Linked DNA regions of Homo sapiens: regions 2 and 3 are each linked to region 1. The links are contacts of gene promoters, found by promoter capture Hi-C in blood cells and fetal thymus (Javierre and others, 2016). All regions are on one chromosome and are shown on one strand. Each heading gives the region's core, a stretch centred on a gene start or on the middle of the fragment in contact. The rest is flanking DNA. Distances are from core to core; before and after follow the strand shown.

What was found. Contacts are between HindIII fragments. The CHiCAGO score rates a contact against its expected background, and 5 or more counts as called.
Region 2: a contact is called between the fragment with the promoter of EFR3A here and the fragment with the promoter of KHDRBS3 in region 1, in 1 of 17 cell types (fetal thymus). The highest score is 6.6, in fetal thymus.
Region 3: a contact is called between a fragment that was not itself captured here and the fragment with the promoter of KHDRBS3 in region 1, in 1 of 17 cell types (neutrophils). The highest score is 6.1, in neutrophils.

The regions. Positions count from the first base shown.
Region 1 is chr8:135,455,047-135,459,848 of GRCh38, forward strand. KHDRBS3 (KH RNA binding domain containing, signal transduction associated 3) reads left to right here and starts at 2,410. Exons shown (of 9, transcript NM_006558.3): 1 at 2,410-2,908. The coding sequence starts at 2,821. LOC101927872 (a long non-coding RNA gene) reads right to left here and starts at 2,929. Exons shown (of 4, transcript XR_002956731.2): 1 at 2,836-2,929. RefSeq lists a silencer at 2,282-2,581. The HindIII fragment of the contact is 3,136 bases long and covers 1,947-4,802 here.
Region 2 is chr8:131,902,152-131,906,953 of GRCh38, forward strand. It overlaps EFR3A (EFR3 homolog A), which reads left to right and starts at 1,942. Exons shown (of 23, transcript NM_015137.6): 1 at 1,942-2,171. The coding sequence starts at 2,162. RefSeq lists a silencer at 1,839-2,318 and an enhancer at 2,889-2,938. The HindIII fragment of the contact is 8,534 bases long and covers 1-4,802 here.
Region 3 is chr8:138,675,885-138,680,686 of GRCh38, forward strand. It overlaps COL22A1 (collagen type XXII alpha 1 chain), which reads right to left. Exons shown (of 65, transcript NM_152888.3): 40 at 3,733-3,792; 41 at 674-751. Among named protein-coding and RNA genes, the nearest start is that of FAM135B, 180 kb to the left of the region's middle. The HindIII fragment of the contact is 1,568 bases long and covers 2,046-3,613 here.

The DNA of each region.
Region 1 (4,802 bases), core at 1,160-3,659:
GGACTGTCACCGGGGCAGATGGTCTGAATGGAAGACACAGAGGGAGAAGAGCTGTTAGAAGAGAGAGAGTCTAAGTGTTCCAATGAAGCCGCTGGGCATCCAGGCCCCATTGTCCTCTTCTAGCCTCATCCCAAACATTCTCTGTCCCCCTTTCCCCCTTTACAAGCAGCTGTCAGGGAACCCTACCATAGAATGTAAGTTCTGTGACACAGGAATATAAGCCAGAGGTGTATGCTTCCCTTCAGTTGTAAAAGGAAAAGACATTGTCCTATGAGTCCCTCCTGTTGTCCAGCAGGACTACTGGCATACCCCTGGTTTTGGGGGTGTGGACTGGGAAGCTCAGGCTCTAAGTTAATTAACAAAGTGGCATAGTGAGGCAGGTAGCAGCCAGGATGCAGGCATCCAGACTCCTGCCCTTCTGGGTGAGGGTGGTTTGGGAAGTGCCCTTTTTGTTTCTGGGGCTGAGAGGCCAGTCATAGACCTGGGATTGAGAAGAGCAGCCACAAGCAGCCTACAAGCCTGACGCTGGGCCCAGGTCAGAAACAGAGGTGCGACAGTCACAGGTCCTTCACTCAGTTGGCCAGGCCGGGGCGAAGCACCACGACCAGCAGTGAGGAGTCCACAGATGGGTGTCTGCCCAGCATCCCTGGAGTTACAGCTGAAGGGAAGGCGAGGGAGGCTCAGAAGGCCCAGAGGACAGCCTTGCAGCCGGAAAAAACCCAAAGCAAAGATCAGCTCAGCATTTCCGATAGGCAGAGTGCTGTTTTGGGTATTTCATTATGAGTTAACATATTTATTCTCATGAACTTCTTATGAAATAAGTTTGGTTGTCATCTCCACTTGACGGATGAGGACCCTGAGGTGAAGAAACTTGCCCAAGGTCACAGCTAGTGAGCAGCAGATCCATGATTCCAAATCCAGGCTGTTTAACCCCAGAGGCTTTGCTTTTAACTGTGCCATTTTTCTGCTTCTTGCAAGTTGAGACTGAAGAGAGCCATGAAGAAGACTCTTACTGGGGACTCTGAAATGACACCTTAGCCGGGGGAGGAGTGGAGCCTTGAGAGTGAGGGCAGTTGAGTACTCGGGTCTGGGACTTAGAGCTTCCAAGATTTCTACCACCTCCCACTCCCCTCGGGTTTGTAAAGCTGCCTCCATTTGCATTGGGAGTGCGGGGGGGCTGCCTGGGGGACTGTGGCGATTGTCCTCAGGCTATTGGCTGAGAGTGGTATGCCACTGACTTATTCCTCCAAGAGACATTTCCAGTACCCTCCATCCCTGCCCCCTGTACTACACACTGGTGACCTTCCCCCTCAAAAACAAAACTCAAACTCTGTCCCTGATGCTCATGGTCTACTGAAAACAGAATTACAGCTGTCTGTGAATGACCTCTGACCAAGCTGGGGGGACACAGAGAAGGGACTTGTGACTTGCTTTGCCAGGGAGGTCCTGAGAGGCTGTCCAGGGAAGGTGACATTGAGGCCGGGACTTGAGCTGGCTGTTTGAAGGCAGGAAAAATGGCAGGGCAAGGACTGGAGTCCTTCGCCTTCCTGGGGGACGTTTATTCCACATGCCTCGGGAAATCTGAAATGGCCTTGGAGAGCATTTGCTGGGGGTTGGGGGTGGGCGGAAGGGGACAGAGAGCATTGCCACCGACAGGCGGGGCGTCCCAGGGCCTCTCCCCAGGAGCGGATGAGCTCAGACGCGGCTCACTCAGCTGTGTCCAGGCACAGCCGGTTTATGACCTAAGAGAATGACAACCCAGGAGCAAGTCGGGATGACAAAGACGCCCAGAAGGGCACGCGCTTTTATGTAACCGACCTCTGAGCTGGCGGATCTCAGGAGGTTGGCGCTCTGAGCTCAGGCGCGGAGAAAGGACGGCGCCCCTGCCTTACTCTCTTATAAGTACGAGGGGACAGCAACGCGACATAACTTAGAGAAGTCCAGGAAGCTTTAGAGAGCAGGGCGGTCCCGCTGCTATTCCTCAGAGCGCGACTGGGGCGAACTGGGGCGCCCTTCCCAGCTCCAGCTCGGCCCTTGTCCCCTCTTCCCAGGATCACTCGCTGGGTGACCTTGGGCGAGCCACTTGACTTCTCTGAGCCCCAGTTTCCCAGTCCGTGCATCTGAAAGGCTGTAATAGCGTCGTGGGGCTCCCCACTCGGCCCTCAGGGCCAAAGGTGGGCGCCGGACACGCGGGAGGGGCCCTTGGACGCACCCCCTCTCGCAAACGCCCGGTTAGTCCCGGCGGACTCGCAGTGGAGAGCGGCCCCAGGAGGCGGCGGGCGGCGGGGCGGTGGGCGCCAGTGCGCAGGCGCGGCGCGGCAGGGCGGGGCGGCGGGCGCGGGGCGGGGCGGGGCGGAGCCGGGCGGGGCGGGGCCGGCGGCAGGCGCTGGGCGCTCGGCGCGGTGGCTCAGAGTGCGCGGGGCGGCGCGCGGCGTGCAGGTCGCAGCTGTGGCTCGGGTGCTGGCAGGTGCTGGCGGGACTGGCGGGGATCGCCGTGGACTGCCTCAGGGGCGCCGCAGCCCGCTCGGCCCGAGGGCCCGCCTAACCGCGCCGCCCGCGCCCGCTCCTCCTCGGCCCGCGCCCGGAGCGCGGGGGCCGCCGGCGCTGGGTACTCGGCGGCCACCGGGGATCGGGGCTGAGCGGTCGGTTCCCGCCCCCGTGCCGCCGCCGCCGCCTTCCGGCCGACCGCCCGGCTTGGCCGCTGCTGCCGCGTCTGGCCCCCGGGTCCCCGCCGCTGGGGGCGCGGGCGGGGTCGGGGGTTGCCGGGCGCCGCCCCCCGTGCGCCTGGAGTCCACATCCCGGGCCCGGCGGCCGGCGAGCATGGAGGAGAAGTACCTGCCCGAGCTGATGGCGGAGAAGGACTCCCTGGACCCCTCCTTCACGCACGCCCTGCGCCTGGTGAACCAAGGTGAGGCGCCGGCCGTTAACTGCCGGCCGGCGGCGGTTGGGGGCCGGGTGGAAACGCGGGGGCCCAGGGGGCCCCTCCGTGCCCTCTGCTGTCAGCGGACGCGGCGGAGACGGAGGCCCGGGTGGCCCCCGGGGTCGTTTGCACGGGGACCTGGGAGGCTGTGGGACACCTAGGGGAAGACCCTGATGTGAATTTTGGGGACTTGGAAGGAGAAGGCTGGGGCGCATGGGTGAGACTTGAAGGAAATCTTTGGGGACTCGGGCACACCCAGGGGAAACTTCTGGGTGGGGGACAGCGACCATCTGGGGGCTTCGTTGGGAACGAGGTTGAATTATGTCATGGAAGGGGAGCGTGTTGGACTCGGGGAAGTAGGGCGTTTGGTTTGTCTAAGGTACTGGAGAAAAAGCTGGAGGAAAATGGAAGGACTTGAGGGACTCAAATGCAGAAGAGGTGAAGGGAACAGGTGCTTGCATTGTTAGCGAAGTTTGGGGACCTTGGAAGAGGGTTGGGGTCAGACCCCAGCACCTGAGAGGAGAGGAGCTCCGTGGTCCCAGGGGAGGAGCCCAGTTCCCCCTCCCAGCCCTTTGTCTCTCCTGTGTCCAGGCTCCAACAGCCCTGGCGGGGCAGTCAGCCCTCCCAGGGGATGGGCAGCCCATGCCAAGCCTTGCAGGCTGGCCCTTGGAGAAGTCAGTAGGGGAGAAGAGGCCGGCAAAAGAGCACCGTTCCGGAGGGCGTTGGGTTGGGTGACCCTCATTGGTGGCTGGCTTGAGGTTCGGAATAGTGGTGAAGGGAGTCCTTGCCATTTTCACACGACTCCAGCCAGCTCAGGGTGTGAAAGATCCTAGGAAGTACTGCGGGTCAGGGATACAGAGATTTCTGGAGGCACGCCTACCCGGGACAGTGTTCCCCTGGCTTTTTCCTCCTGTGGCTTCCTGAATCATCTGCTGGCATGCACGGTAAATTAAGCCTTCCTTCCTGGGAGCAGTCTCCTACTTTTCCTGGAATATGTGTTTCAGATGAAGATGGGTGTGGGTGCCACTGGTCTGTCTTTTCTCTGGGAAATGGCAGCAACATGATCTGGTCAGATCTGTTACCTTTTGCAGGAATTACTGTGCACTGACAGTCTGTGGTTCCCTAGATGAATCGGATCTGCTGCTCTTAGTGCTCGCCCTGGCTTTTTTATTGTTGGAAGTGAAAGATGAGGCAGACATATTCTATTTGTATATAGATACCTATATTTTAAAACAGTGACCTCCAGTTTTTGCCTGTTTCAACCAGTTCTTCAGAGTAGAGTGTGTGTGTGGTTGACCGATGGTGGAGGAGAGACTCTTTACTGTCTCCAAGAATTTAAGAATATTTGAATTGTTGAACAGAAATAGACTTATGGAGCTCCCTCATTTTATTTTAATTGCAGGCTTATTTTTATTTCTTTAATAAAATGGGCTTGTGAAAAAGTGAATGGGCATGCATTCCTAAATAAAAGAAAAAAAATTAAGTTTTATTTCTATGCCCTCTGAACAGTTCTGCAGTTGAGTTTGTACTCCTGTGCCTGATGATTTACATGTATCTTTTATTGCCTGCTGGGCTGTCATCTCTGTGAAAGAAATTTCTTCATACATTGCATGAGATCCGTGGCATTGGAAATATTCTGGACTGTGGACTCAAGTGCATTTTTCCTAATAAAGTAGCTGAATCAAAGTTAGGTTGTACTCAATTAAGGAACAGTTAAACTGAAAGTACAGTGCGTTATCTTATTTTAAAAGTCAGAATTATTTTCTCTGCCGTGTTGCCATAGTATTGTGTTGCTAAAACGTCCAAAATTCTTTTGGATTCTGTGTTTTTACCAGTGTTAATGGCTTCCAGTTACTTGAAACAGATATTTACTGGGGAAATG
Region 2 (4,802 bases), core at 692-3,191, 3.6 Mb before region 1:
CCACCACCAAGACTGAGCACCTAACACTCTCTCCTGTATTGGGGCCTTCCGATTTGGCTGCCTACCTCCACAGTTTCTCTGCCACACCATTCCCCCTGCAAGGCCCTGCTTCTGATAATTTAATGTTACTGTTATGCTTTTTGTAAAAATCACAGAACAGTTTCTTAAAAGACAAATTCCAAGGTTGAATGTAAAGTTGTTTATCAGTTTTATTTACCTGTTTTTGTTTTCATACTCTTGAATAAAATCCTTTATTTATATATTGAATTAATATACTCTGGCCCCCACCTGTGTGCCAGCCAAGGATACATAAACATGAACAGAATATGGCTTTTGCCATTTTCTGAAAAGCAAATAGGCCCATGGTAAAACACAAGCACTCATGACAGTTTATTTAGGATGCAGTGAGAAAAGTGCTGTAGCAGAGAGGAATCAAGATAATGCCAAAGTCTTAGGGAGAAAACTGGAAGCATGAAAGATTTTATAGGTGATAAAATATGCAACAGGGCATTAAAACATGAATAAGCACTAGGTAGTTTGGTCTTTACTGTTAGCAAGGGACAGTCTCTCTTTTTTTTTTTTTTTTTTTGAGATGGAGTCTTGCTCTGTAGCCCAGGCTAGAGTCCAGTGGCCCGATCTCGGCTCACTGCAAACTCCGTCTCCTGGGTTCAAGCGATTCTCCTTCCTCAGCTTCCCAAGTAGCTGAGTGAGAATATAGGCATGTGCCACCACCCCCGCCTAATTTTTGCATTTTCAGTACAGACAGGGTTTCGCCATGTTGGCCAGGCTGATCTCGAACTCCTGACCTCAGGTGATCTGCCCACCGCCCACCTCGGTCTCCCAAAGTGTTAGGATTACAGGCGTGAGCCACCGTTCCCAGCTGGACAGTCTCTTTTATAGGTACAGTACACACTCTCCTCTCCCCAGCTGCCATGACTCACTCTAAATTACCCTTCATCCTCTCCCCAGCCTCTTTTAGGACTCCCCTAGGCTTTGCTAATTCAAATTCTGCTTTCTTCCAAGTCCACCTCAAGCCAAGACTAATTTCTCCTCAGCGCTTCCTAGCTCTGATCTTCATGTTCTTCATCTTCTCCTCCCAGTACTGCACAATATCATTTCTTAATCAGAAGGTTAGCCCTACTTTTTAGGACAAAGGTTCTCAGTATTATCATTGTATTTAAATCATCTGTATATGTGTTCGTAGATTTGGCTCAGCACCTAGGAATCTGCTTTTCAACAAGTCCCCAGGGGATCCAAGCACAAAAGGATCCTGGACCACTTTGACCCACTTTGAGGAAGGCTGTGTTAAACCTCTGCGGTTGGCTTTTATATCTCCATATGGGCTGTCCGCAGCCCACGGCGCCTAGCATAGTGTAGGTGCGTTGCTCAGCTCTCTGGCTCCCGGTGTCTGCTCAGCTTGGTGACTATTAGATACCTCAATTATTAATGACACCCAGAGTCAAGAAGAGTAGCTCAGCCAAGTGCACAGAGCTGCCCTCTCCAGAGGAGACTAACTCCTGAGGGATAAGGTCGCTCTGAAAGTCACAAGAGCAAAAGGAAATTACATTTTCTGCCCTCTCAAAAAATGAGCAGCCATCACCCCAAATGACCTTAGTGCATCTCAAATAAACCATGCTTTCAGAGTATGCAAAACGCACTGCAAGTTAAACCGATTGCAAAAGAAAAAGCCCACAGGTACTCCGTGCGCTCAAAGCCATCATCCTCACAAACGTAAAGTGATGCACTCCAAATAGAGATCAAGGAAAACGAATGCCACGCAGGTCACCAGGCTTGGAAAATAGAAGGCACCCGAAGTTGTTCTACGTGGCTGTCCCCAGCCACCCATTCCACCCGCTCGACAAGGGATCCTGGGCCGAGCCCGGCCATCCGCGGGGGCGGGGCCGGGACGGCGGCGGCGCGCTGACGTAACGGGCGTGGGTCGTCCGTCGCGCCGCCCGGCGAGGAGTGGGCTGGCGGCGGTAGCTGTCGCCCGCTTGGTTGCGTGACCGCGGGGTCCGCGTCCGCTCCCTCCACCCTTCGCCCTTCGCCCTTCGCCTCGTTCCGGCCTCCGCGGCCCAGCAACGGCCGTCATGGTGCCGTCGGCGCTCCCTGCGCGGCCCCGCTGAGCCTCGGTGCGGCGGCGAGCGCGGTCGAGATCGCCATGCCTACCCGTGAGTGGCCGGCCGAGGGCCGGGGGCGTTGGGAGGCGACTGCCTGCGCGACGCGCTTGGGCCGGGTACTCCTCCCGGGCGGCTGGGGAGGCTGGGCCGCGCTGAGCAGAGCCAGGAAGTGTCTGCGAGCGGCGGAGTTAGTTTCGTTTCGGCTTAGCCTTCCGGAGATGGCGTGAGCCCGTTGCACGGATCGGGAAACTGAGGCCCGAACGTTAAGGGAACTGCGGGGACGCGCTGTTAGGAGGCGGCAGAGCTGGTGGTAACCTGACCCGTGGGATTTCAAAGTTAAAGCCCTTTTCCCACGGCCACACGGCTTCGTGGGACTTTATGGAAATATTGAAAATAACTGCGGTACCATTGTCAGTCCCTTCTCACCTCGGGCCGGACGTCGCTAGTGGACGCGCCGGCCCCGAGTCCCTTCCCGCGGCCGCCAGACAGACCCCCGACAGCCTAACTCGGCGTCCGTATCGCCGTCGGGGCGGCTGAAGTCGGAGCTTTCTGTGGAGCTTGTTAGGCAGAGGCACCTCGACTGTGGCTTTTGGACCACACTTCGGATTCACCCGGGCAGATGATTAAAAATGCCGGTTTCGGGACCCGCCCTATTCCCATGGAATTAGTCTGGAGCTTGGGCCCCGGAGTCTGCATGTCTAATAAGCGTCCCTGGGGTTACCAAGGCACCCCAAAGTTTAAAAGTCACTCGGTGTTGGAGGATTTTTAGACAGACGCGATACTACAAGTACTGCTAATGACCTATTTTAAAATGACCCAGATAATCGCAGTGTGACTTTATAGCCACTGGTCAATGTGGATATGTGCAAACTAGGGAAGCTCCTGATCTTGGGTAGAGAGGAAGCAACTTTGTCATTGATTTGAGAATTCAAGTAGGACTCCTTTGACTAAGTGTTCAATACTATAGAATCTTTACACACTTGTGAATATATTTCCTAGAATTCATAACTACTTCTAGTTGTCCTTGTTTTGTAGCCATCTGGGACGCTGAATTTCCAGGTCAGTCTCCAATGCACGTTTCGTCTAGTGGTGGGAAAAGATGAGTTATTTCTTGATATTATAAAGATTGATATTTTCCTGATATTTAAGGATATTAAATTTAAATTGATATTAAAGATATTTAAATATCTTTTTGAGATTTAAAGATTTTCCTGTGGCAAATCTTTACATAGTCCTGATGTAGAGATTACTTTTAACTCCTCATACATGTGTGGGTACTGTGGATTTTGTTTTCTTCACACACTACTGTGTGTCCTTAACTCACGTTCTTGGACTTCGCATCCAGTAAATATGTCCAGTTTAAATTTCTGTTTTATTCCTTTTGGCTGGAGGAATATCATTTACAATCATCTTCATTGTTATTGCCAGTTTAGTACTTCTAAATTCATGTTCACGTTATTCAGTGAATATCTGAGACTAGCACTATGCTAATCTTTTATTTTCTGAGAAACCAAAGGGGAGGAGGTAAGCACCTATTGAAAGTTGAGGCTTCAAGTAGAATTTATTGGTAACATGCCAGAATTATCCTGTGAAATAAAATTTTTAGTTATGTTCTAGGGTTATCTAGCTTCACAGAGTGGATATAGTAAACTCGTTTCTTTTCAAATGTTGAGTTCATTCTGCAAAATGATTTTAGGATGGGCCATGGTGGAGTTTACATAGTTAAGAATGCAGATTTCACACCCTGACTGGAAGACAAGTGAAATGTTTGTTTTATCTGTCATTGTTAATATTTGTCATGGTACATTTTTTATGACTGAATAAAAATGTGCTGTGGATTGATTGGGGGTACCAGTGTGAGGTGAATAGTGTTCATATTTGCCTTTTCTCTCCTTTGGCAGTCACAGCTGCCGAAATTGCTGGGATAGTGCAGTGGACAACAATATTTCTTTGAAATTCTGTTTGTAGAATATATATCCAACACAGAGATGGCAAAATTGTTATTCTCTGTAGGAATTTAGGAGGAAGTTCACAGCTCTTAGGAGGAAAACTGTGCTCAGATAAGCTAAGTGTTTTTGTTTGATTGGTTGTTTTAATGTTAAATGGTTGAGAGGCTTAGTGATAAGCCCAAGCCAGTTAATCCGTACGAGTTTTAATTAAAATCAAAGGGTTGGAGGTGATCACTGTGGTCTCTCAGACTCTACAATTCCGAGAGCAACCCTTGCTGTAAGTCATAGAATTATTCTACTCTTGCTATTTTGTTGCTTATTTGGAATATTGGTACTCATTGAAACTGTTGTTAATAACTAGAATCCAGTGAAGCATGCAGTAACCCCACTGGTTAAGCAATGATATATCTCATGAATATTAACAGCCACTTCACTAGAATTATTTTGGAGATCCGTAGACTCTTTGAGAAAGCAACCACCTGGAAGGATGCCTGACAGGAAACTGCCAGGACACAGAAACAATTTTGTGGTCGTGTTACAAGCCTGTAGTCTGAAACAATCCTTAGGCACAGATTTCAAGACTATGCTGCTGAATGCTGTTGCAAACCTGTAAACCTATAATTTGACACATCATTTTTCTAGAGGCCTTTATTTCATTCTCCATTCAAAGGACCATTAAGAAGCGTTTTATTTGAAAGATTTTCAAACTCTGAATCGGAGTTTGAGTTGGAAC
Region 3 (4,802 bases), core at 1,580-4,079, 3.2 Mb after region 1:
TATTTTTAAACTGCAGAGCCAGATGTACTGGCTTTGAAAGAAGTGTGCCTTCTATTTCTAGAGGCATTCAGGTGGAGGCCGAAGATATTGATAGCAATCCTCAACCTGAACGGGAACACACTTCATTGATTCTTAAGATCCCTATAACTCAAAGTTTTAGCAACTCTTAAAGCTATCACCCCTAGTGAGTTTGTAAACTAACACCTAGTAGACTGATGTGAATTATTCATTAGAACTAGCGGTGGCTCACGTCTGTAATCCCAGCACTTTAGGAGGTTGAGGTGGGTGGATCACAAGGTCAGGAGTTCAAGACGAGCCTGGCCAACACAGTGAAACCCCATCTCTACTAAAAATACAAAAAATTAGCCAGGCGTGGTGGCAGGCACCTGTAATCTCCGTTACTCGGGAGGCTGAGGCAGGAGAATCACTTGAACCTGGGAGGCGGAGGTTGCAGTGAGCTGAGATTGCACCACTGCACTCCAGCCTGGGCAACACTGCGAGACTCCATCTCAAAAAAAAAAAGAAAGAAAAAGAAAGAAAGAAAGAAAGAAAGAAAGAAAGAAAGAAAGAAAGGAAGAAAGAAAGAAAGAAAAGAGTGTTTCTGCAGGCAGGTCCAACAGGAAATGGCTGTATGTCCTGAAAGCAAGTAAGAGCTGGATAAATAAAGACTTACAGGAGGGCCAGCAACCCCAATGCCTGGGTCACCACGGCTGCCAGGAGAACCAGGGATCCCAGGAGCTCCTCGATCCCCCTAGAAAGAGAGAAAAATAAGATCAAGGAGGTCAGTGCCAGGAAGGAGAGGGCTAGGGTACAAAATGAATCATGCTTCTTCTAGAATCCTGACTGCAGGCTTCTCCTGCCACCTGGCCTCCATGGGCCATGCTATAGTCTACCCAGGCAGCCCATCATCCCACTCAGCCCAATATTCAGGGACCACAGCCACCAACTCAGATTATATACCTTTCAAGGACGACCACTCCCGGACCAACCTTGACCATGGCTCTAAATGTGATTATAACACTATGGCCCTCCCCATGTGAGCATTGTCCAAATCTACCATGCTTTCTTCAAACCACATCAGACCCTCATCCTAACTATACCCCAGATTTGCGCATGCACCCACATTTCAATTTAGATCCCAAATCACCCATAAATTAATTTATCAATTCACCAATAATTTGCCAAGTACCTACATTTTGCACATCATCCTTCTGGATGTGGGAGGAGGAGCCTAAAGGGGACCGAGATAAGACCTTTGCCTTCAAGCATAGTTAACAGTGTGGACGTGGGTGTCAGAGGCCTGGATTTAAGTTCTGGTTTCAACACCTATTAACTGTTAACTTAGGAAAGTGATGAGTTCCTATGCTCTAGTTTCCTCACCTACAAGGGGAACAGGACAGGAGCTGCCAGGTCTGCAGATGTTGTGCTCACTCTATGAGATTATGCAGAGAGAGTGCTTGGCACAGAGCCCAGCACAGCACTGAACCTGAGCTAGGAGTTGTGTTTGCTTCTGTTCTCGTTGTACTGCCATGCTGGACTTTGATGGAAAAGGAAAAAGGAGGGAGAAATTGAAAAAGGGAAGAAATTTTGTTTGCCATTTCCTGGAGAACATGGCCAAGGCCGAGCCACGCCTTATTCGTAATTTCAAAATCCTCAGCCCTTAAAAACAAGTGTTGATCTCAACTCAGTTGGCAGCAAAACCTGACTTGTGCTATTTGCAGTCTTTGGTTATTCCATTGTGTGTTGAAAATTTACATATTTTTGTCGCCTAAGGATTAATGTGCTTGATTAGGGGTGTTGCCCCAGATACTATCATAAATGTCATTATGTGTATATTTTGCATATTACCTTTCCAAAATCGAAATTGAATTTGGCCCAAAACAGACATGGCCCCAACAGTTTTGTGTAGGAGGCCATGATCCTGAGCTTATTCAGCCAGCTGAACCACAGTCAAGCTTGAGGCCAAGACGGCAGGTGATCTTGCTCAAGCCACTTAATACCTCTGGAATGAGTTAACTCGTATGACAAACGGAAACAGCCTCAGAAGCTTGTTATGAAGAGCCAATGAGATAATGTTGCAGCTAATTAAGGTAGAACTCGATATTGCTAGGTAATTTGTTGCTTTATTAAGGTTTAGGTTATTGTGCATTACAAAATATCTCATTCATGGCTCTAAGATGACTTGCCTTTCCTATAGTACAACCGTTGCCTGGATGAGTACATAAGCTATGTATTCATTCAACTAATGCTTATTCATTCACTGCAAACCATATTCTAGATTCCAAGCCCAGAAGATTACTCAGTGCCCATTGTCAATACTCAGTGCTAAGTTCAGAAGAGAAGGGATGTTCATGGGGATATGAAGGAACAGACCTTGCGAAGTTCTCACAAAAGACACAAACCAAGACCTAAATCTCTCACTAGGTCTCCTTGACATCATTTCTTCCCCTGGTCCCTCTGGGCCTCTGAGTCACACTACCTGCTGTTTCTGGGTCCCTAGGAGTCAGCAACATCCCTTGCCCTGCCCTCATCTCTGCCAGCAGTTCCCTCCTCAAATTTTCTGTAAATTCTCAATTAGTATAATCTGTTTCTTTAGAATAATATGATATGAATGGTTCTTGGAAGTTCAAGATACTTCGGATCCCTAGAAAATCTAACTAGTTTCTATGGGGTGGTTGGGGAATAGAGGGAGTAAAAAAAAAATAAGACAAATATGGAAACAAGTGTCATGAACCAAGAATGACCATCATGACATGTGATTTATCTGTCACCAGTTCATTGTAGCAATGGAGAGGGGCATGTAGGAAGATTTCAAGCTGGTAGTCAGGTGATTCTAGGTCCAGTCTCAGGACCAAATCAACCTCATCCTGTGACCTTCGGTAAGTCCCACAACCTCTCTGCATCACTGGGTCCTCATCAATTAAAAAAAAAGTTCTACCAAATCCTCATGTATCTTATGAAGACATTTAAAAACAACTATATAAGGTTGAGAAATACATTGTATATTATGGTTGCATTATTATCACTTATTTATTATTTCTTTATTTTTGAGACAAGGTCTTGCTCTGTCACCCAGGCTGGAGTACAGTGGTGTAATCATGGCTCACTGCAGCTTTGACCTCTCAAGTTCAAGCAATCCTCCTGCCTCAGCCTCCCTCCATAGCTGGGACTACAGATGTGAACCACCACACCTGCCTAATTTTTGACATTTTTTATAGGGATAGGGTCTCATTATGTTATCTAGGCTAGTCTCGAACTTCTGAACTCAAACAGTCCTCCCTCTATTATTACCTTATATGCAGAGGTAGAAGATAGAAAGTGAACTAAACACATATAAATGTCAGATAAATCTATATTTCTTTGCACTTTGGTTTTGCTTTAAAAATCTTAATGCAGATTTTCCTGTTATTCTTATTTTCTGTTTTAGTTTGAAACAGAAACTGTCCCTTTCCTGTCCCAAGGCCATGGTCCATGTACATCAGCAAACCATGACCATTGCAAGCTAAGTCATGTCAACAACCTAGTTTGTATGCTTCCATGGTATTTGTTTGCTCTTCTGTTTTGTATACATGCTATTTCCCCTTGTCTGGGATCTTCTTCCATCCATGTTCTAAGCTTCCAAAGCCTACTTATCAACTAAGACTCAGTCCCATTATTTTGTTGTTATAAAGCTGCCTCTGCCTGTCTTGTCCTTCTGTCTTTTTGCAAATGTTTGCATAGATCTTCACTGACCTTAACACATTGCCCTCCCAGTGCACAGTTTTCTGACCCTCTGACTTTTCCGCAAGCAGCCTGAAAGTAGAAAATCTTCACTCATTTCTTCACCAAACAAATGTTTACCAAGCACCTAAAATAATTCAGCCCCTCTGTTAGGTACTGGATCTATGCATCTCTGTATCCACAGTGTCCAGATTAGGGTCTGGCACAGGTGGCAGCTAATAACCATTTCCTGGATGCAGGAACAAAAGAATCCTCCATCCATCATTCTGTGTCAGGCATTGAGATCTGCCTTTGACCAAAATAAACTTTTTCAGAGGAGGCAGCATGACAGAAAGGCCTCTCCCAGCCCAGTCTGGAAGCGTGGAGTCACTGACTGCTTTCTGCTACACTAGGTGTGGCTCCGTTTGTCTGTTTACGGTCCACTGTGATGCTAACAAATTCCCCCAAGAAATGACCTTACAATTTCATAAACTGAAACTTTTAGAAAACGGCCCCAAGAAGAGCAAAAATATCTTAATGTTCTGACAGGAAAAGCCAGAAGGCTAATGGTTAAGAAAGAACAGAGCACATGAGCTAGAATCGGTAGCACAGTGTCCAAGGAAGAGATGTGGGAGGAAGGAAGTGTGGGGGTTGTAGACGGAGGATGATATTTATTGAGCAACAGCTGTGTGTCATAAGATCATAGATCTCCTGAGGAGCCCTGTAGGGGTTAAACACTCTTTACTCCTTCATACGGAAAAGGAACTGAGGCTCAGAGAGACAAAGCCACTTGAGCCACTTGCCTTTGAGTCATCTGTCTTGTAGGTAGCTGAGCTGGGATTCTAACCCAGTTCTGTATGAAGCCAAAGCTTACTTATCCTGCTAGAAACAAGTGCCACTCAAGAGAAGTACTGGCATCTTCAAGAGTCTTCCTGCAGTTATAAGGAATTAGAAGGGGCCAAGGGGCAGCCAAGGAAAACCTTCAAATAACTCCCTTCCTTGATTTCCTAAGGAAATTTCCTTAATTTCAATCAGCACCTGGGACAGTACCAGGGCAAGCCTTGTGGATGTCACCCTCTCTAGGATCTCTTTCTCCACCTCTC